Regions from separate parts of the Homo sapiens genome. Here all the other regions are linked to region 5. The links are contacts of gene promoters, found by promoter capture Hi-C in blood cells and fetal thymus (Javierre and others, 2016). All regions are on one chromosome and are shown on one strand. The core of a region is centred on a gene start or on the middle of the fragment in contact, and the rest is flanking DNA. Distances in the headings are between cores, read along the strand shown. Region 1 overlaps MRPL3 (mitochondrial ribosomal protein L3). Region 2 overlaps LOC105374116 (a long non-coding RNA gene). Region 3 has its middle 4.0 kb from the start of RYK. Region 4 overlaps ATP2C1 (ATPase secretory pathway Ca2+ transporting 1). Region 5 holds the start of ACAD11 (acyl-CoA dehydrogenase family member 11). Region 6 overlaps RAB6B (RAB6B, member RAS oncogene family). Region 7 overlaps ANAPC13 (anaphase promoting complex subunit 13).

The links. The method cuts DNA at HindIII sites, captures the fragments that hold promoters and counts their contacts. A CHiCAGO score of 5 or more calls a contact.
Region 1: a contact is called between a fragment that was not itself captured here and the fragment with the promoter of ACAD11 in region 5, in 1 of 17 cell types (total CD8 T cells). The highest score is 5.7, in total CD8 T cells.
Region 2: a contact is called between a fragment that was not itself captured here and the fragment with the promoter of ACAD11 in region 5, in 7 of 17 cell types (naive B cells, fetal thymus, naive CD8 T cells and 4 more). The highest score is 11.0, in naive B cells.
Region 3: a contact is called between a fragment that was not itself captured here and the fragment with the promoter of ACAD11 in region 5, in 2 of 17 cell types (fetal thymus and non-activated CD4 T cells). The highest score is 5.6, in fetal thymus.
Region 4: a fragment that was not itself captured here is called in contact with the fragment with the promoter of ACAD11 in region 5 in 1 of 17 cell types (total B cells); the score reaches 6.0 in total B cells.
Region 6: a contact is called between a fragment that was not itself captured here and the fragment with the promoter of ACAD11 in region 5, in 1 of 17 cell types (fetal thymus). The highest score is 5.5, in fetal thymus.
Region 7: a contact is called between a fragment that was not itself captured here and the fragment with the promoter of ACAD11 in region 5, in 1 of 17 cell types (total B cells). The highest score is 6.4, in total B cells.

The regions. Positions count from the first base shown.
Region 1 is chr3:131,495,030-131,497,888 of GRCh38, forward strand. The region is part of intron 4 of MRPL3 (mitochondrial ribosomal protein L3); the gene reads right to left. Among named protein-coding and RNA genes, the nearest start is that of MRPL3, 6.5 kb to the right of the region's middle. The HindIII fragment of the contact is 189 bases long and covers 1,355-1,543 here.
Region 2 is chr3:133,799,998-133,802,933 of GRCh38, forward strand. All of the region lies in intron 1 of LOC105374116 (a long non-coding RNA gene), which reads right to left. It also overlaps a transcript of SRPRB not described here. Among named protein-coding and RNA genes, the nearest start is that of SRPRB, 4.3 kb to the right of the region's middle. The HindIII fragment of the contact is 2,438 bases long and covers 374-2,811 here.
Region 3 is chr3:134,253,480-134,256,179 of GRCh38, forward strand. No RefSeq gene overlaps it. Among named protein-coding and RNA genes, the nearest start is that of RYK, 4.0 kb to the left of the region's middle. The HindIII fragment of the contact is 4,822 bases long and covers 1-2,700 here.
Region 4 is chr3:130,896,521-130,899,220 of GRCh38, forward strand. The region is part of intron 2 of ATP2C1 (ATPase secretory pathway Ca2+ transporting 1); the gene reads left to right. Among named protein-coding and RNA genes, the nearest start is that of ATP2C1, 3.8 kb to the left of the region's middle. The HindIII fragment of the contact is 295 bases long and covers 1,231-1,525 here.
Region 5 is chr3:132,658,527-132,661,272 of GRCh38, forward strand. It overlaps ACAD11 (acyl-CoA dehydrogenase family member 11), which reads right to left and starts at 1,283. Exons shown (of 20, transcript NM_032169.5): 1 at 1,077-1,283. The coding sequence starts at 1,225. It overlaps UBA5 (ubiquitin like modifier activating enzyme 5), which reads left to right and starts at 1,803. Exons shown (of 12, transcript NM_024818.6): 1 at 1,803-2,172. The coding sequence starts at 2,012. All of the region lies in intron 26 of NPHP3-ACAD11 (NPHP3-ACAD11 readthrough (NMD candidate)), which reads right to left. RefSeq lists enhancers at 1,585-2,123, 1,659-1,748, 2,119-2,398. The HindIII fragment of the contact is 2,892 bases long and covers 1-2,688 here.
Region 6 is chr3:133,822,413-133,825,293 of GRCh38, forward strand. It overlaps RAB6B (RAB6B, member RAS oncogene family), which reads right to left. Exons shown (of 8, transcript NM_016577.4): 8 at 1,823-2,881. It also overlaps a transcript of SRPRB not described here. Among named protein-coding and RNA genes, the nearest start is that of SRPRB, 18 kb to the left of the region's middle. The HindIII fragment of the contact is 674 bases long and covers 1,146-1,819 here.
Region 7 is chr3:134,479,873-134,482,756 of GRCh38, forward strand. All of the region lies in intron 2 of ANAPC13 (anaphase promoting complex subunit 13), which reads right to left. Among named protein-coding and RNA genes, the nearest start is that of ANAPC13, 4.7 kb to the right of the region's middle. The HindIII fragment of the contact is 1,099 bases long and covers 998-2,096 here.

The DNA.
Region 1 (2,859 bases), core at 199-2,698, 1.2 Mb before region 5:
TACCTCAGTTTTTATTTATAATAAGGTACAAAACAAAAAGGCAACGTAGTCTAATTTCTTGGAGGCATAAATTCTTTACAGATTAAAAGAAAACAGTTCTAACACTATTATAAAGTGATTTAATTTCCAAATGTTTAGATATATGAAATTTTATATTCATAGGTCTTCGTTTTTTAAAAAATCCTCTATAATCAATCGATTTGCATTTTTTCCTGAGAGCTATAATATGGAAGTCTGGATACTTTTAGTTTCAAAAATCTTTGTTTTCAAACAAAAATGATGTATTTACAAAGAATTCTAAAACTTCATTTTCACATTTCATTTTGAAGAAAGGTCATTTTATAGACAAAGCTTTTTCTTGTTATTGTAATAAATGTCATCTGGACTTAGAAATTTTATATCTTGAAGAAATTTTATATCTTGAAGAAAGAAGGTCCTTCGCAGTACTTTCTATGCTAGAGAAGTGAAGTTTTCAAAGTTTACGTAAATTAAGTGGGTCAAAATCCACCACAACATTAGAACACAACATCCAAATCACCCTGCTGTGCTATGTAACCACTGAAGAGAATAAAGCTATCAGAATAAGCTAAAGAGAAAAAAATGTGTGAACAGCCTCGACTATGAAATGCAATACCTATCATTCTGTAATATTAATTATTAGTACTGTTATAGTAATACTATTAGTATTACTTTCATAAAATTTTGATTATAACACATCTTTATCACTAAGTAAAATAGAATAAATTGAGCTCCCATGTACTTTTTTTCTCCAAACTTGTTTTTTCTTGAGAATTAAAATATTCAGAGAACCAATGTGAGACTTTCAGAACTGGAAGATAATTCAGAGACCATCAAGTACTATTCCTTGTTTTTATGGGTAAGAAAATAGATGTTCAAAAGGTGAGTATAGGGGACCTAAAGGTAGAAATCAGGATTAGAACTCAACTTTTCTGATCCCACATCACTTGTTTTCTCACTACCTCATATTTCAGAGGAAGCAATCTTCACAGACCTGGCTGGGGCAGAAGGGATTACCCTAGCATGCTTGATTTACAAATATCCAGGCCATGAAGGCATCAATTTACAAAACTTGTAATGAAAATGAAGATGATGATGCTAGTCATTACAAAAACACAGAAGTACAATCAAGTAGAAAACAGTGGCATCTATCAAACCAAAGAATTACTCATATGAAGGCTGGTACATAATAAATTTTTAAAAAGTCAAACACTTGATTTTTTTAAAAAGTTCCCATAAATATCTCATTGTACTCTATAATTACTATGGAGTTATATGAAACCCAAATTTGTTAGTCAATAAACTGTTAAGAATAGCAGGACAGATATTATGACAAAGCTTTAAAGAAAAATAAATGGAGTATGCTACCATAATATTCAAAAATAGCTAACTTCTCTAACACGAAACAAAATAAACCATGTCACAGATTTCAGTGATTTCCACCACCACTTATTGACTAATCAGTATTTCTCACCATTTATAGAACTATGATTTCCTGTGAACATCTCAAACATCTTTCCTCCAAAGCTTCCCTTTTCCTTGTTCCTATCCCAGAGTATGCAATCAGCACTGACCTAGTTGTGTCCTCCCACCTAGTCCTTTCCAATCCCTGCCCCTTCCAATCTCAATGCAACTGCCTTGCTTCTAAAGGCTCTTATCAACTCTCCCCTGATCTCTTAAAACAATCTCCTAAAAACTCTTTCCTTCTATCAGATTTTTAAAATTTTAGTTAACTAATTTAACAATCTGAACAAGTTACTGACCTAGTTAAAGAATTCAGAAAGCACCTCAAAGTCCGTAAGATGAAGTCTAAACCTCACACACTACCTTGATAGCTGCAGCTTCACCACCCTCCCAACACTGGCCCAGGCCTGCACACTAAAATGCAGCCACATTACACTTCTCTCCCCAAGCACACATGCTCTTCCATGTTGTCTCTGCTTCTGCAGAGGCCATTCTCTCTGGCATGCCTGTAACACCCATTTTCCTTTCTGTTCTCCCTGTGAAACCTCCTGGGATTTTCCCTGGCAGAATTGGCTGTCTCCGGTTCTGTGCTCCTTGGATTTATAATATTGTACTGGGATGGCTGGTTTATTTGTGTAACTTCCTCACTAGCTTATGAGCTCCCAGTGGGTAGATATCAAGACACAGTTAAGTAAGGCTCTGGTGTCTGTCGCTCTACCTTTTACCAGTGGGTGACTTTGAATGAGTTAGTTAACTGCGTTAGCCTCAGAGGCTGAAAAGTTTATATAAAGTAACAAATGAAAAAAGCGTAATGCTTATGCACGTGGCATGTAATAAATGTTCAATAAAAGTTAACTATCAGAAAATAGAGTAGTTAGTAGGATAAACACCTGATAGTTTTGACAGTCAGAGAGTATGGGTTGTATCCTAATTTCTGCCTTGTTCATTTCATAAACAGTTTACAATGAAAAAAAAGTTTGTCTTAGAGATAAGCAATGTGTTATAGTAAACCTAAAGATGTTTACTGAAAACCATCACCATTTTGAGAAAGGTTTTCTGGTTTTAGTTATTCAATACAGGATACTCATTGGGCAGCTTTTCCAAACTTAAACTACAAACTCAGTACTCTACTTAAAAAAAAATGCTTTATTAAAAAAAATCTGATTTGGATTCTTATACAGCTTTCTCCCAAACACTGAAAGCTCCTTCCAGAATACACAAAATTAATTTCCACATGCTCTTGGTGTCAAGAGTTAAGACAATTTTCCATAGGAAGAAAGTGAAATGAAACATAAAACAATAACAAAATAACCAAATCTACTGAGTGTCTGTTATATTCCAAGCACATCTGAAAAACCTAATTTAATCCTTGTGATA
Region 2 (2,936 bases), core at 343-2,842, 1.1 Mb after region 5:
TGGCTGACATCATCTTCCTTCTTCCCCCAGGGACGAACCTAGAAGTGTGGCACTGTTCCTCTGTAGTACCAGGCAGCCTATGACTGAGGCTCAGGGCTGTAATCTGGCCTGGCCTTAAATCCCCCTCCTTGGTCTCAAAAGGTTAAGACATCATTTGTTCTCTGTGCTGCTCCATCAGCAGATAGGGACCACCTAGGACCTCCGGGTGTTTCCTTCCCAGATCAAGTCATTTAAATAAGTGCAAACTGGGTGCCTGCTAAGAGCCAGCAGTTTTGGTATAGAGCCAGACCTTCCCTATGCCTACACCTGAAAAATGAATGATTACATTGTACAATGTATGCTGTGGGACTGTCCAAAGTATCAGAGCTGAATAAGCTTAGATATGGTGCAATCAAGTGAGTGAGTCAGCTCTGAAGTGGAGCTCTTTGTCAGGACCTCTTGTGTTTCCAGTGGACTCACCTTTCTCCCCTTCCATCCTTTAAGGGACTGGAGGGAGCTGCCCAAGCTGCCTGGCCAGATGTCTGTGGACTAAGTGTGACTGATGGATATAGGGGACTGATCCTACTTGTATCTGACGAAGAATATTGAATGATGTTAGAGAAAATCCTAAATGGTGCCTCTATTCAGATGTAATTATTCTTACCAGCAGATTCTACTTTCTGAGAAGCTAAAATTAGAAATTAAATTTGGTAGGCTAGGGTGACATGTCCTCAAACCCGCTAAGGCAGGGATGTGAAGCAGGAGGATGTCAGACAGGAGCCTGGGGCACAGCAATGGACACAGTAGGCCTGGGATCATTCATTCAACAGTTGACCAGTGCCTCCCATGAGCCAAGTACTGTTCAGGGATGGGGAATACAGAGGTGCATACTATAATCTCTTTAAAAATAACGTGTTCGTTTGTATTTACTGCTCTTATCCATACAGCCTTCTTATTAGTACATATGTACAGAGGAATGTCTTAAATATTTATCAGATACTATAGGTAGAAAAATAGAGGTGATTTGTGGCTTTCATTATTGCTTGAGTTTTTAATATAATAAGCATGTGTTAAATTCTGTTTTTAAAAATCCTCTAAACGTTTTTTTAAACAAAGCCATAGCAGGGGAATCCCATGATTGGTATCCCTAGGTCTGAGGTATGTTCCATTGTACATTGGAGCTTTGGGGAGCGGATGGAAGAAGGTGTCTGGTGAATGGGACATTTTAGTTTATGGAAGAGAAGAGAAAAATTCCCTGACTACAACTGGTTTCATTGTAACTTTCCATCTGCTATTGGAATCAAGAACTAAAAACTTATCAGCAGGCAGCAGTCAGTATCGCATGTCCTTCCTCTGCATTCGTGCCCACGGAGCTCCTGATGGAGATGGGTGAGTACAGGGAAGCAACTAATCTCACCCCTCCTGCTCATTCCTGAGAATGGGAGTGCTAACTTCTCACTGAGTGTGGGAGCTGTGCACATTTCTTCTGCCCAGGAAACATACTGAAGAAAAAAAGTCTCTTTTCTTGAACCTTTTTTCTTCCTTTCCCAACTTCACCACCACGGCAGCCCTCTTCATTCACATAGCTCTGACCAAATATCCTCAGCGAGTTAAGACAGTTACGGTTGGAACTCTCCGTGTCTGGCTCTTCCTTCTTCCCTGCATCTTTGGTCCCCAGTCAGGAGGTCTAATGGTAATATCCAGTGATTTTTCTAAAGAGGAATCAGTGGTTATATTATACAAGGGGTGTGTGCGTGTGTTTTGGGTGGTGAATACAGAGCAGCGGTTAGGACCATAAGAAATAAGAGAAATGGAATGTGGCATGACCGCTGCCAGTTCTGATATTTTTGAAATTGGTAATTTAAAATAAAGTAGTTGGTTTACTTACTTAAGCCTCACATCTTAACCGTCCTTCCTTGATCTGGAGTTCCTATCGCCTACCTTTATCAATTAAAAATGCCTTGAAAATGAATCCTACTATGTTAAAGCATACGGTTAAGTAGATAGAAGCCCAATTGCCTGGGATGAAGTCCCAAGTCTGCTCATTACTATATATCCTTGGGGAGGTTACTCAACCCTGCTTCAGTTTCCCCTCTGTAAAATTAGAAAATGAGTCAGTGTGAGAATTAAACAAATTAATACATTAGGCAGGGCGTGGTGGCTTGTGCCTGTAATCCCACCACTCTGGGGGGCTGAAGCAGGAGGATCACTTGAGCCCAGGAGCTCAAGACCAGCCCAGGCAGCAGAGAGAGACTGTGTCTCTACAAAAATAAAAATAAAAAAACTACCTGGGCATGGTGTTTGTGCCTGTAGTCCCAGCTATTTGGGAGGCTGAAGCAGGAGGATCACTTGAGCCCAGGAGTTCCAGGTTACAGTGAGCCCTATTGTCACTGCACTCCAGCCTGGGCAACAGAGTGAGACCCTGCCTGAAAAAAAAAATTAAAAGTATTTAGAATGATGCTTGGCACCAGGAAGTGCTCATTAACATTAGAAACTATCTTCATGCCCCACTGTCTTCCCCATACACCATAGTCTTGCTTCCATCCCCACACTGCCCCATCCCTTGCTTATCCCCTTGAGCTCAGACTCATTCAAAGCCTTGTCAAAGGAGCCTCTCTGCTACAGAAGATGCTACTGACCACTTATAGGACATGTCTGTTTTACTCCTGTGCCACTGACTCTTCCTTCTTAGGCTTTTTTGTGGGTTCCTTTCCTCATTCTTCATGTTCTCCATGATTTTAATGACCACTTATTTATTCCTGACTCCCAAATGAAAATCTAGTATATACTTGTGGAACTTTATTTGTGTTTACTCATCACTTGCTTGACATAAGCTTTTAGATTTCCCAGAAGCACCTAAAACTCAACATATAGAAAAGAGACAATTTTCATTCTGGCTACTCTTACGTTGGATCCACAGCCCCAAGCCCTCTCCCGTTGAGGTCCCTAATTCATTT
Region 3 (2,700 bases), core at 33-2,532, 1.6 Mb after region 5:
AGTGGTTCCCCAACTCACCTAGAATAAAAGGCAAAGTCTTTCCAAGATGTCAAGGTAGTTCTCACTCTCCACCTTTCTCCCTTCCCTCTGACCTTATCTTCTGCTCACCGCCTACTCCCTTAGTTCCTGCCACACCACAAAGGCTTCCTTTCTGTTCTTCCAACAAACCAGACACAATCCTACCTCAGGGCCTTTGCACTGCTGTTCCCTGTCTCTGGAATGCTTCTGTCTGACACCCACATGGCTTCATCTCTTACCTCCTTCAAATCTATGCTCAGATGTTAACTTCTGAATAAGATTGCAAACTTCCCCACACTTTAATTAAACCCTTGGAGAAGGAATTGATTCCCAGTCTCTCTCTTGCTGTCTCTGCATGACACTTGGTCTCACACAAAGGTCTTCCCACAATCCCCAGCCCATCCTGAAGAGGAAGTTTCCTCTCCCTCCCCTAACAAGGTGTGGGTGGCAACTTCTGAAATTTCCCAAAAAGCCTCAGCATGAAAATGAGAAACCATGACCACAGCCTCCTGAGGTTTCTTTGCCTTGGGGAAATGAAAGCCACAGTCATCAACACAATCCACACATTGGCCCTCCACTCTTGGTTTTGTTTGTCACAGTGGTTGACCTTATTCTCCTCCTCCAGGAGACATATTTCAGCATGGCCAGGAAATACCATCAGCAGGACTTGTACTTTAAAAAGCCAGTCTTGGACTTGAGATGCCATGGGGTAGATGGGTAGATGGGAGCGTGGGGTCAAAGCTACACAGAGATGATGGGTGTTCCATGTTTGACCTCTGGTGTGGGCTGAGAATACCTGGTGCCCGCAAGGACAGACACCCAGAGACAACTCAGCAACATGGACCTGACCCAACCACTCAGCTGGGTGGGGGTGGGTGGTTGGAGAAGGGGTGGCTCCAAGTCCTGAAATCAGCCTCGTCTTTTGCCAGGAGCAGTTGGGAATGTGGCTCTCTCTATAAACCTTCTCCTTCCACAAGTAATATATTAAACCATTTGCACTGTAAAAGAGTCAAGCAGCACAGAAGTATGTGAAATAAAATATAAATATGTCCCTCCACACACACCCTCGTCTCTCTTACCCACTGCCCAGTTTGATGTATGTTCTGAGAGCCCTTTCTCTAGGCAGTTACTCACACATATATGGGTTTAAACACACAATTGTATGTGTGTGCTCTTTTTCAGCCTTATAGAAATGGACAACACAACAAAAAGTTGTGATCTACAGGATTTGCTTTTTTGACTGATCTAAGTAAGTTGAGATCTCGAGGATGTTCTCATGACAGGGCATACAGAGGCATCCCTGTGGTGTTCTTTTGGTTGGGATGAACTGATGGATTTTACCAGTTCTGGTAATACACATCAAATCCTTGCACATACATCTTTGTGCATATGTATAAATATTTAGAAGAACAGATTCTCTGAAATGGAATCTTCAAGTCCAAAGGAGTTATGTTTTAATTTTGATAGATTCTGCTGAATTGCCTTCCAAAAGATTTTACAAATATACATTTCCAAATGTGGCATAAATGAGAGACACAAGGTAATAGGCCAATGTTTTTCATTTTGCTGTTGACAGTCTAGTGAAAGAAAAATAGCTTATTGTTGTTTAATCTGCATTGCCCTCATCACTAGTGCGGTTAAGTATCTCATATACTTATTGCATATTCAAATTACTCTTTGAAATATCTGCCCACATATTCTATTTTTTAGTTAGCTTATTTGTCTTCTTATTGATTTATGGATGTTTTCTTTTACTGTATCCCTTGTCATTTAACTTTTCTTATGATGTTCTTTACTTAACTTAAATTTTGGATTTCTATTTTAGATAAATCTGACAATCTTTTCCTTTATGGCTTCCGCATTTTGTGTCTTTCAAAGGTCCCCCAATTAATACTTTTTGTATTTTGTACTTTTTTCTCTTAAAAAATAGCTCCTTAATCTATCTGGAATTTATGTTTATGTATGGCACATGATACAATTTTATTTTTTCCATATGGTTAACCATTTGTACCAAACACTAGTTATTACATTTACTGAATGTTCCTTAGTGGCCATATCTAACTTTAAACAAAACAGGAATTTCAGCCTGCTTTCACTTCCCTCTTTCTTCACATACCTTTCACATTGAGATCATGTAGTTCTACACTGGCCAGTATAGTAGGCACTAGCCACATGTGGCTATAAAGTACTTCAAATGTGGCTGGTAGGAATTGAGATGTGCTGTAAGTGCAAAGTACATGCCAGATATTGAAGACTTGGTATTAAAAAAAAAAAGAATGTAAAATATTTCATTGATAATTTTTATATTGGTTGAATGTTAGAGTGGTAATATTTTAGATATATTGTGTTAAAATATATTATTAAAATGTATTTCATATGTTTCTTTTACCTTTTTTGACTTTACTAGAAAATTATGTTTATGGCCTGACATTTCTATTGGGCAGTGCTGATCTAGATATTAGTTCCAGGTTGTTCAGCATTTCATTTTAAAAATTACATTTTTCATAGCACTTTAAACAATTGACAAATGGCATTAGCTACAGTAACTGAAACTAAAATAGGCAAGTGATCCTATGAGAAGTCACAGTATTATAGGGCATCTTCACTTGTCATAAGCATTTTTTTTAACCACAAACCTCAATGTTGAATTGTTTAGCTCAAATGTGCAGAATTTCATTCTCC
Region 4 (2,700 bases), core at 128-2,627, 1.8 Mb before region 5:
AGCCTAGAAATTTTCAAAAGTGACTGACCATATTAAACTACATAGATTGATACCTGTGCCTTTTTATTGTTCACTTGCCTTTTTGTAGTTTTCATCCTTCTTTGATATAGTGTAGTATTAACAATTTGGAGGTGTGAAACAAAAATGGATTCAAGTCTTGACTAACTTGTCTTGAACCACTTAAAGCTGTGTGATTTTAAGTAAATTACGTCACCTTTCTGAGCCTGTATTTCTTCATCTATAAATTGGGATTGATAATCTTTAACTCACAGAATTGAGAGGATTAAATGAGAAACCCTGTATAAATTCTCTTGTGAGGTAGGAATGATAACGTTTAAGAGCTTGAGTTGTGGTGGAACCATGCAGACTGATTTGAATGCTGGATTCGTCGCTTACCATTTGGCTTTGTGCATATTAAAGTTTTCTGTGCTTCCGTTTCTTCATAAAATAAAGATAATGATAGAACCTACCTTATGAGGTTGTTGTAAACATTCAAACAGTATCTGGCACATAGTAAGTGCTCGGTAAATGTTAATTATAAATTGCCTAGCTGAATGTTTGATACATACTAATAGGCCACCTGGCATTAATATTGTCATGACAGTTAAATGTTGGAAGGGGGAACAGTAGTAGCCAAATGCTCAAAATGAAGTTGTCATTGTTAGTTGAGGGATAAGTGGAGTTAGGTAAGGAATTTTCTATGGCATTAGTGCTTTTAAGCCTACAGAAAAAGTTAGGGCTCTACCAAGAAGCCAGGGTCCAGTACAGAAAGAGACAGGTTTGGATTTGAAGCCCGACAAGTAATGTTTTCCTCTCCTGAAAAATCTGACAAGTTACTAGGCTTCTAAGCTTTCTCAGCCTCTAAGTTATCTCATCTGTAAATGAGATAATGCCCTCTTGCAAAGTTGATGTGAGTAATAAATGAAGCCGCCAGAGCAATGTTTGACATACAGTTAACTTGGATGAATTGAGTGATGCTGCTGTTCCCTAGTAAGAGTATCCTCCAGTAGGTATGCAGGTAGTTACATTTGTGGGTGTGAACAGTGTAGAATTGATAGTGTTTCCCTAGAGCATCAGCATGAAGGTTTCTTAGGTAGCTTACAGTGGTGTGGGGAGGAAATGGTTTCATCCATGTGTTGGTTCCTTCAGCAATGGTGGTATTTTCTTTGGCACTTCGGTTTAGATTCTTCTGGACTTTTTTCCTAGGGCCCATTTAAACTTTCTCAGCAAAGCTTGACCAATTTTTAGCTGTAGACTCCAGGATGTTTCATGAACACTTTCTGCTTGTCACTAGGAACGTTTAAAATGTTAATTTCCTGGAATTTTTGGACTACTTAACATTCAGTCGTGAGTTAGGATTTTATCCAGATCCTTTGGAATTTGTTTTTACATGTTTATCACAAATCTAAACAGATCCCGCTTAGGCATCTTGAGATGCACAAGTAAACAGCTCTTACCTGATTTTTAAAAGTTAATTGCATGTTTAAAGTGATAGCTTACTAGAAAAGATATGTCTAGCTGGAGAAGCTTGCACATAGGTTTTCCTTTCTAGTAATGGATTTATTTTTTGGAATAAATTTGGCCTTTCCCATAGAAAATTCAGTGTGACTTTAATACACATGAAACTTTAATATAGCCTTAAATGTTTGACTAGTGGATAGAAATGTAATAGTCTTCAGGATTTCAGGACATGGTTAATTTAAGATTATAGACAGAGCTAATAGGTGTAGAGAACAATGCCCCAATCTTTTTTGTTTGAAAATGGTTGTATTTACACTTTACTTTTAAAAGCAGTTTCTTAATTCAATTTCAAATTGTTAATCAGCTAGGAATGTCTCAAGAAAAAATTGCATTACTATAGTTGGAGAAGCTATAGGGAAAAAGGGATGAGAAGCCACCTTAATTTTATTCCTTTAACTGAAAATAGGAAACCAGGTTATAAAAATATATCTTTGGGTGTGGGAAATATAGTTTATGTTGTTTGCAGTTTTGTCCATAAAATGATAGTCTTAATTAGTACTCTGAAAAAGAGTTGAAACTAAAAGAGATTATATATATGACATTTTGTAAACTGTAGTAATTTAAGCCAGAGGATGCTGTAGAGAGTACTTGTATGCAATAACCTTCTGACAGTTGGATTCCAAATACTTGATTTGTCTTCATATTTTTGTCATTCATTTAAAGTCAGCAGAATTCAGGTCTGTTAACGCAAAGCATTATGAAACAAAATAGTTTCCTAGGGAACACACCCCTAGGGGCCCAGGACTGATTTTGGAGATCTTAGTTAGCCATGATCTGTTTTGCAAGGTTAAATTTTGTTTTAAAGGTGCCAGGAACACTGTGGCTTGATGGTAAAGTTAGCATGAATTTTAAATTACACCGTTGTTACATGTAGCATCTTAAAATATCTTAAGGATCAGTTCAAGAGGTCCCCTCACATTTACTTTGTTGAAACAAATTCTTTTTAATAATGGTTTCAGGCATCAGTTGTGACAAGGTTATCTTTATGCTTTTCATGTAGACAAATGTTGGTAAAAGGCAGTAAAGGGTGCATCCTGAGGTTAATGCCATCATTTCATGAAAGAAAGGATCTCTCAAAAAAAAGGCTAAATTGATAATTTCCTCTTGGATGTATATGACTGCTACTTATATGCATTTGTTAATACAGTTGACCCTTGAACAATGTGGGGGTTGGGGTGC
Region 5 (2,746 bases), core at 33-2,532:
GTCCAAATTCCACAGCAATTGAAATAGTTGAAATTTGAACTTTGATCTGTTTCAGTTTGTTACAACACAAGGCTTCTAGCCTAGAAATCTCAGCTATTCTTTATTCCACCTTTCCCTTCATCTTCCAATATCTATTGGGACATGGGACCTTTAAATTCTACACCCTAAAATGTTCCCTGATCCATCTCATTTATTATTATTTTCATTTTCACCAAAATCAGTAGTCAAAGAATATAAATGCTAGTGATAAAATACCACTAGCACACTATGTTGTTGCAATTTTTACGCCCTTTCACCTATATTACGGTATTTCATTTCATTAATAAGACTAATCAAAATAGGTATTACAACTTAGGAAACTAGTTCTCAGAGTGTTTATGTAACATATTTAAACTCCCAGACAGCAAGTGACAGATCCAGTTTTCTGAATGATAGGACTCTTTCTGTAGCCCTGTATTAGTAACAATGTTATTTTTAGAATAAAGTTTTAAGAATGTATTATCTATTGTAAAACATCAGACTAAAGCCAGATTCCCGGTGGGGAACGCTACTCTCAGGATCCTCTCACTCAGTTCCATTACCTCACTTCAAAAAACCTGAGGCCCAAAGTGGTGCTGTGACCTCCTAAGTGGAAAAGCTAGTACTCGAATTCGGATCCTCCATCTGGTGTCATTAACTCAGCCTCCCGGAATACGGCCAATCAAACGGAATTACACCAGCTTCTCAGAAAAAGATCTAATGGCTGTATCACAAAAGAAGGCATCTATTTCTCAGAATTTGTAGCCTTAATTGCCTTGGTGAATCCTCAAGGGACATAAATCCATCCTTTAACAAAGATTCCTTTGGATAGTAGAATGGTGAACGTTATTGCGCTTCCATTACCGCCCTCCAATTGGGAAGCCCCCAGCATCGAATTCGGAGGGCCGGCAATAGCAGCTCATGCCTGTAGGGTGCGTCCACTGACTGCAGGAAAAGCAATCAGGGTGGGAGAAACTTAGGAAACCACCCAGGGCCAAAGGAAGGAAAACTCAATGTACAAATTTTTTTCCGCTGGAGGCAAAGGCTGACATCCATACCTGTACTGGGCAATGGTCAGCGTAGCCTCACGTTCGGCCCCAAAGCCAGACAAGTGCTGGTTTAGGTAGGCCTCCAGGGACTTGCTGTCGAACTTGTGCTGGGGCAGCACTTCGGCCAAATCGGACTCGCCAGTAGCACCTGGCTTCATGATCACCCCCGCAGGCCACAGCAACGCGGCATCCACAGGTCTCGAGTGCCGAAGTCCTTCAGGATTGGGGCAACGTCCCCTCTAGAGCATGGGCCGAGGCCGGGGTGGGGTCTGGCTCCAGCCAACCGCACACAGCCTACGCGCCGTTGCTGAGCAACGCTTGCCCGCTGAATCCCGAGGTTTTAGCTCTAGTCAAGTGCCAAAAGAGCCCAATGTGTGTTCGGGTTTCAATTCTCCAGTCAGCGTCAGAGTTGGAGGCCTCAATTTTAAAGAAGGCAAAGCCATGGTCATCGTTGCGGGTAAGGAACAACGCAGAAGCCTCTTCCACCCCCAAATTTAATGCAACAGCAGGCGGAAGACCTGCAGGGTCCCGTTCAGAAAAAGGGCCGTCAGACTGTCGAGCCTAAGAATAAAAAGACCCTGTTTCTCTTAGATACCCGGTTAGCAAGGCAACATCGCTGGCCTCCTGCCCTGGACACTTATCACCCCGGTGCTGCTGCGGCCGGGTTTAGCCGGCCCAGCGAGGAAGGAAGCCGAAAGAGCCAGGTTTTTGATGAGGGGGAGCGATGTCTGCGACGCACCGGAAGCGGCTCCGAGGAAGGCCTGTGGGAGTCTCGGAGACGTGTCTGTCTGTGAGGCGCTGGGTGCACGTCCCCAGGGCTCTGGGCTAGGAAGGCAGCGGCGAGGTGCCTCCCCACGTACCCCTCGCGGGCCCAGCCGAGCAACGTGGGGCGAAGGCGGCGGCGAAGGCCCGGGCTGGGAGCGTTGGCGGCCGGAGTCCCAGCCATGGCGGAGTCTGTGGAGCGCCTGCAGCAGCGGGTCCAGGAGCTGGAGCGGGAACTTGCCCAGGAGAGGAGTCTGCAGGTCCCGAGGAGCGGCGACGGAGGGGGCGGCCGGGTCCGCATCGAGAAGATGAGCTCAGAGGTGGTGGATTCGAATCCCTACAGGTAACCTGCGTCGCCGGTCGGAGGCAGGCGCGGGGGACGAGGTCAGGCTCCGTGAGGTCAGAAGTGAGGCGCTTCCCACGTCCCGCTCATGGGGACGCCCGCCACCCTTTTCTTGGTCTGCGAATCCTGTTCCCAAATGGGCAAGGCCACATCTTAGTACTGATCGGAAGATATTCTTTCTCTTTTTTAAAAACCTCCAGTGAGTCAGCCATATGGTGCTGCTCCTGTGCCTGCTGAGGACGTGTGTCCAGTTTCCTATCACCCTTGCCTCTTAATTAGTCCGCCTCGCTGTGTATAAGACTGATAGTAAGAACTTTCAGAAGATGAGATCAAATATTAAACCTGCTAAGGTAAACTTTGAGTTTCATTAAAGGCTTATCAATGCATCTTAAATGGGGTCGGGGCGGGGGAGAGCGGGGTTAGCTCTATTCTGAGATATTCGGGTGCTCCTTAACATCTCAAACCATTCGACATTACCAAGACTGCCCAGGCCTCTCTTTTCTTCTTTCCTAACAAAGCTTATCAATTCAGCAGATGGAATATAGTGCAATGGTTAAGGGTAAGGACTCTACCG
Region 6 (2,881 bases), core at 233-2,732, 1.2 Mb after region 5:
GGGCAGACCCAGAGGGGTCTAAGCACTGCACTGTTTCTTCCTTTGGCTCCTCTCCAGTCCGGGCCTTGGTAGCCTCTCCACTACCAGGTGCCTGACAGTCTACTGGGGGTTCCTAATCAACAGCAGCTGCTGTTGGTGGGGAGTCCCTGGGGTCTGTCACTTCTTCCCACTGCCTCTGTCTCAGTGCCTCCTGGGCTGTCAGTGTTCCCCTGTGGTCCTGCCTTGTATGAAGCGCTGGCCATGCTCTGTTGACTTAGATCATTTCAGCCAGTCTATGTTTTTTCTTGTTTTTGAAGTTTTGGGTTCAGCACAATTGTCAAAGCTTCAGTTGGCTCATGCCTGTCCTCACCTGAAGGCCATCAGTGGCAATTAAGATGCCTATCTCTTTATCTCATCCCTTCACACATTTAAGGAAAGGTGATCACCCACCTACCTTCATTTAAATGCGCAGGAAAACAATCCCACTTCCCTTCAACTGTAAACCTCGAGAAACTTGACTGCTCACAAGAGCCTTGTACGCATTTATCCATTGGGTAAAGGCCACGCCTTGCAGCAGACCATGGAAATACTAAACAAAACGCAATTCCTGCTTTAGAGGCTAGTAGCCCCATTCTGAGGTTAAGAAACGTGCCCTTTCAGTGTGGTTTCCCTGCTCTCTCAGTAGTGTGAGCTCCATCACTGCTGCACTTGACTCCTAAGCGCTGTGTGGGCTTGTGGTCAGCTGCCAGCCATGCAGCCCCAACGGGACTGCCACTTTTCCACTGGCCTCTGAAGTGCCAGTGTTCCCATGATGCTGATGTGTGAGGCACATGGCCATGTTCTGTTGACTTGAATATATTGTTTCAAGGGTTTTTTTGTTTTGTCGAGACAGAGTCTCACTCTGTCGCCCAGGCTGGAGTGGCAGTGGTGCCGTCTCGGCTCACTGCAACCTCTGCCTCCCGGGTTCAAGTGATTCTTCTGCCTTAGCCTCCCCAAGTAGCTGGGATTACAGGCCTGTGGGACCACTCCTGGCTAATTTTTAGTAGAGATGAGGTTTCACCATGTTGGCCAGTCTGTTCTCAAACTCCTGGCCTCAATGTCTCTTCTAATCAAAGATGGCTTCCTTGAGGTGGCAGCAGATTGGAGGGTGTTCTGGAACCTTTATAAGCTTTAAAAGGAAAGGTAATTAGTGAAGTTGGACTTGAAGAAGAGTGAGATTCCCGGGCAAGGGCAATTTACCTAATCTTGGCCTTTGTTCCTCTTTGGATTGGTCCCAGGACTGTGCTGGCTTTCTGAGCATCTTTTAGTCTGGAGATAACTGAGACCTGGAGGGGCCACTCAGGGATGTTCCTAACTGGTGTGGTGTGGGGCTGGGGATGGAATATGGCAGCTAGATGTTGTCAAAGGTCATTATAGTTCACCTTAAGTTCTTGCCTTTAAATGGCTTTCTGAAAATCACCAGAAGCATGAGAGATCCAGTCCCTGTACCCTCTCCCCCCTTCCTAATCCCCTAGCCATGGCAAGCAGAGTGGGGATGAAGGAATATATCGTACCCCTGACTCAGTTCTGCCTGGAGGCTCCCTTCCCATCAGCCTTTCAGCAGAATGGAGATTAGGGGAATGCGTGTGGATTTACTCTCATGAGTGTGTCCCATCTTTACCCCTTCGGAGTTGGTGGACAGCCCAACTCCACCAGTAGGAGGAAGAAGCAAAGCAGCAAAGGGCTTTAGGTAGTGGACATACCACCCAGGCATGACAAAAGGGACTCTGTGGAGCACACACTTCAGGAACTGTTTTTGAACCCCCCCATTTATGACTGCACCACTTAAACACAGACAAGAAGCTTTGTTTTGAGAATTAGGACAGTTTATTGTTTGACCAACATGCTGAGTCTTTTCCACATTTTACACAGTTTAATGTGAAATCAACATGGCGGCTATGTCTTCTGAGCCCATAACAGATGGAATTGCCACCCTCTGTGCTCCTCACAGCCAATCACTTTAAAGGGATGGGTGAGGGGAAAGTGAGGGGAGAAGTGGACACACACCGCGAGATGCAGGCTGGCCTTCAATGCTATGGAGGCTTCCCACCTCCTGAAGGAACCATCTAAACCCCTGCTGCAAGGATTTCCTGATGAAACCACACACTGCTGGGAGTGCCAACCAGACAGGGGTCTGGAGTCCAAGGAGTTTGCACATTGAGATCCCAAGGTTTTGGAACACCTAAATAGTTCATGTCAAACAAAAATTCAAAGGGTGTCCTGATCTGTGTGGGTGCCCATGACAATCAATCAGAGTAGACTTGGGGACTGGCCCTTGTGCAGTAGAGGAGCCCAAAATACCACCAATATTCTCACTCATATGCTGGGAAGAACCTAGTGTCCTAACCAAAAAGAGTAGAGATGGTCTGAGGAACACACCCACACACAGCAGTCCTTGCTGTGTAATAAATATGGAGTCACATTTGTTCACACACAGGGCAGCAATGGATGAAAAATGGAAACTTCACTGGTTCTGATCACTCCTAACTTGCTGGGTGATCTTAATAAGCAAGTTGCCCTTCTCCATCCTGGTTTTCCTGCCTGTAGACAGGAAAAGTTGTGACAGCTCTGCTTCACATAGCTGTAACAAGGTGACAATGCCTCACATTCTTTGGGGAGAGGCAGTTCGGAAACGAGTGTGCGCACAATCTGCTCGGTTGATGCACACAGACATCCTTCTGTTCAGCTGCCCCTCAAGTGGCTCAGACATGCCTCACTGTCCTCGGCTACCTGGTCCCATCTCATCCTGACATCCTCACCTGCCTTCCATCTTGTGAAGGAATGAGGCTGCTCTACCTGCAGGATGCTGAAGCCAGGAGGGCCATCCCTTTATTGTCACAACTGGTATCCCAGGGCAGGGCCT
Region 7 (2,884 bases), core at 297-2,796, 1.8 Mb after region 5:
TGAAACTCTGCTTTGTACCAGAGTTCACAGATACCAATATATTTCTTTTCAATTATCTGTGTTTTGTTTTATGGTTAGCAAACTGTTATGCGATATCCAGACTTAAAATTTTCCACTGGATTCTAATTTGTAGTATGTGAATATGTTTTCCCCTCTAAAATTATGCTCAATATATATTAAATGATATTTACTTATCTATATTTGAATCACATACATCTTGTTCTACAAGACAGATTCAAACATACTTGAACAGATTGAGAAGAGCTATCATTTATTGTAACGCAATAATATATTATCTTAAACTTAAAAAGAAAGTTCAGTCCTAATAATTACTTATAGATGACAAAGAATAAATAGGTCCTTGGTTAATGAATTCTTTAATTCAGAAGCAGACAACGTTGCTTAATTTCATCCTATCTGTGGTATGCTTTCTAAAATAATGTGTCTTTCATTTGGTATCTACTGTCCCTTGCAATACATGCCAACACATAAAATGGCATATATGCCTGGAAAACAAAAACAAAAGTATCATAAACCCAGCCACCCATTATGGTGTACTGTAAAATGCCCTTAGTTCTTTGCAGCTACTCTTATCAAAAGGTGAAACTGATTTCCCCAATCTTGGATTTGGACTGGCCCTGTGAGTTGTTTTGGCCAACAGAATGAAGCTGTCATGCCAGTGGGCCAGTTCTTGGCCTAAGCTCCAAGAAGCTCTGCCGTTTCCTCTCAGGTTGCTCTTGGAACCCTGAGATTGAGAAGTCTGGGCTAGCCTGCTGGATACCAGAGACCATGGCATAGTCACCCCATCACCCAGCAGACAGCTTGTTAACTGCCAGACATGTGAGACAGTCCTAGATTACCCAGCCTCCAGAGTCTGTTGGCTGACTGCACAACACAGGCAAGCCTGGCAGGGATCAGCTGAGCTGGTGCAGACTAGAAGTCCCTCCCAGCTGAGCTACAAAATCATGAAATAAACAGTTGCTCTTTTAAGTCACTAAGCTTTGGGGTGACTTGTTATGCAGCAAAACCTAACTGGCATACACATTGCCTTAGAATCGCAAGACAAGCGAAAGGTGTGGATTAGCAGCAGGGCCAAGCCAACTTCGCCTGGAAGTCAGCAGGGAAACCTCCTTCCACCCCTGCCACCCAAATGTTCTCCAATCTGAGCCATAAACTTCTCCAGAAATGGACGTCTCCTTTATTTTCTTGACTTTGTTTAGGCCCTCCTCCCTTGCCTAGACCACAACAGCTTGCCAATTGGTCTCACTTGCCCCTATCTCCATGTCACACCATCTCTAACAATGCTGGCTAAACTGATTTTCCAAAAGCCAAATCTGAGCATAGCAGTCTTGCTTTTAAGACCATTCATTCCTGGATCTCCTGAGGATGAGGTCTAAGTGTGATATCAAATACCACTCTCAATCTGATCCAAGCCCAACTTTTCAGCCTACTTATGTGACAAATGTATTCTTCATCCACAGTGAATGACTCACCATGTCCCAAAGCCTTTCAAAACTCTGGGCCTTTACACATCTGTCCCCTCTGCTGCAATACCCTTGTCTACCTCCACTAAACTTCTGGTCCTTCCTTATGACCCAGCTTAAACATGACATTCTCTCAGAAGCCTTTCTGATGCCCACCAGGCAATCAGCCACTTCGTATATGATGTGGCTGTTTATGCCCCCACCTAGAATATTTATTATCACAATTACTTATCTATAAGTGTTGCCTTTCTAGACCCCTCAGGAGGAGGAACTGTATCTTATGTTCACATAGTCTTATGGCACACAGTAGGCTTCAAAAAATGCTTGTCAAATGAATGAATGAACAGAAGTTCACAAGACAGGATTTGGAACTTCACAGACCTAGGTATATGTTATATGAAGCCCTACTTACCTGCTACCAGACTTTGGGCAAGTTGCCCTTTCTGATCCTATTCTTTTCCTATAAAATGGGAATAACAGCACCTCCCTCACAGGGTTGTTTAAGAATTAGAGATAATGTATATTTCCAACCTCAGTCCATGGCATAAAACTGGTATTCAATAAATGACATCTATAATTCTTATTATGCTCTCTCTTTTGACTATTTTCCTAAGCTTGAACTAAGCTATGACTTATTTGATATGTATATTATTCATTGAACATATTACTATCTCTTATTCGTAAATGAAAATACAGATGAACTATTTTATTTCTTTGCAAACAGCAACAGCAGATATTCTAACTATAAATTATATTTTATTCAATACTAACTACTCTTCTCAGGGCAGCTGGCATGCTTTAAAGAAAAACAGTCCTGTTTTCCCTTTTTTAGGCCTCTATGACATAAATAGGATTTTAAACAAACATTTATATAAGCAAAACTTTTGGATCACTTATTACATGAGGTTTAACAAACTCCCTGCAGCAGAGTTTTCCAAAGATGGGGAAGAAAAGAGTATTCCAGAAGGCCACTGGCCTAAACGCAAAAGAATACCCAGGTATCTTCTGAATATTTTCCAGGGAACCTAAGATAGGTGTATGCTCCAAGAATGTAAGTTTCTAAAAATGCTGAAAGACTGATGAGCCACAGGCAGGGAAGTAAGAAACAGAGCTCATATGCTGCTGCTTCTTGTTCTTCCCCATCTTGCGCATTAAACTCTCATTATTTGGTTTCTCTGGTTTTCGTGTGGTGGACAGAACATGGCTCAGAAAATCGGGGCTCTAGTCCTGGCATGACTCCTAACTGACCTGGCCATGTTAGCTCCCTGAACCACATTTTTCTTCAAATAAAACATACAACTGGATGCTCTCCAGAAGCTTCTAGAGTTAGAGAATTCCACAGCTTTGATTTCTTTGCCACACTAGTTTATCTTCCATTGATATCCCTCCTCCACTAGTTA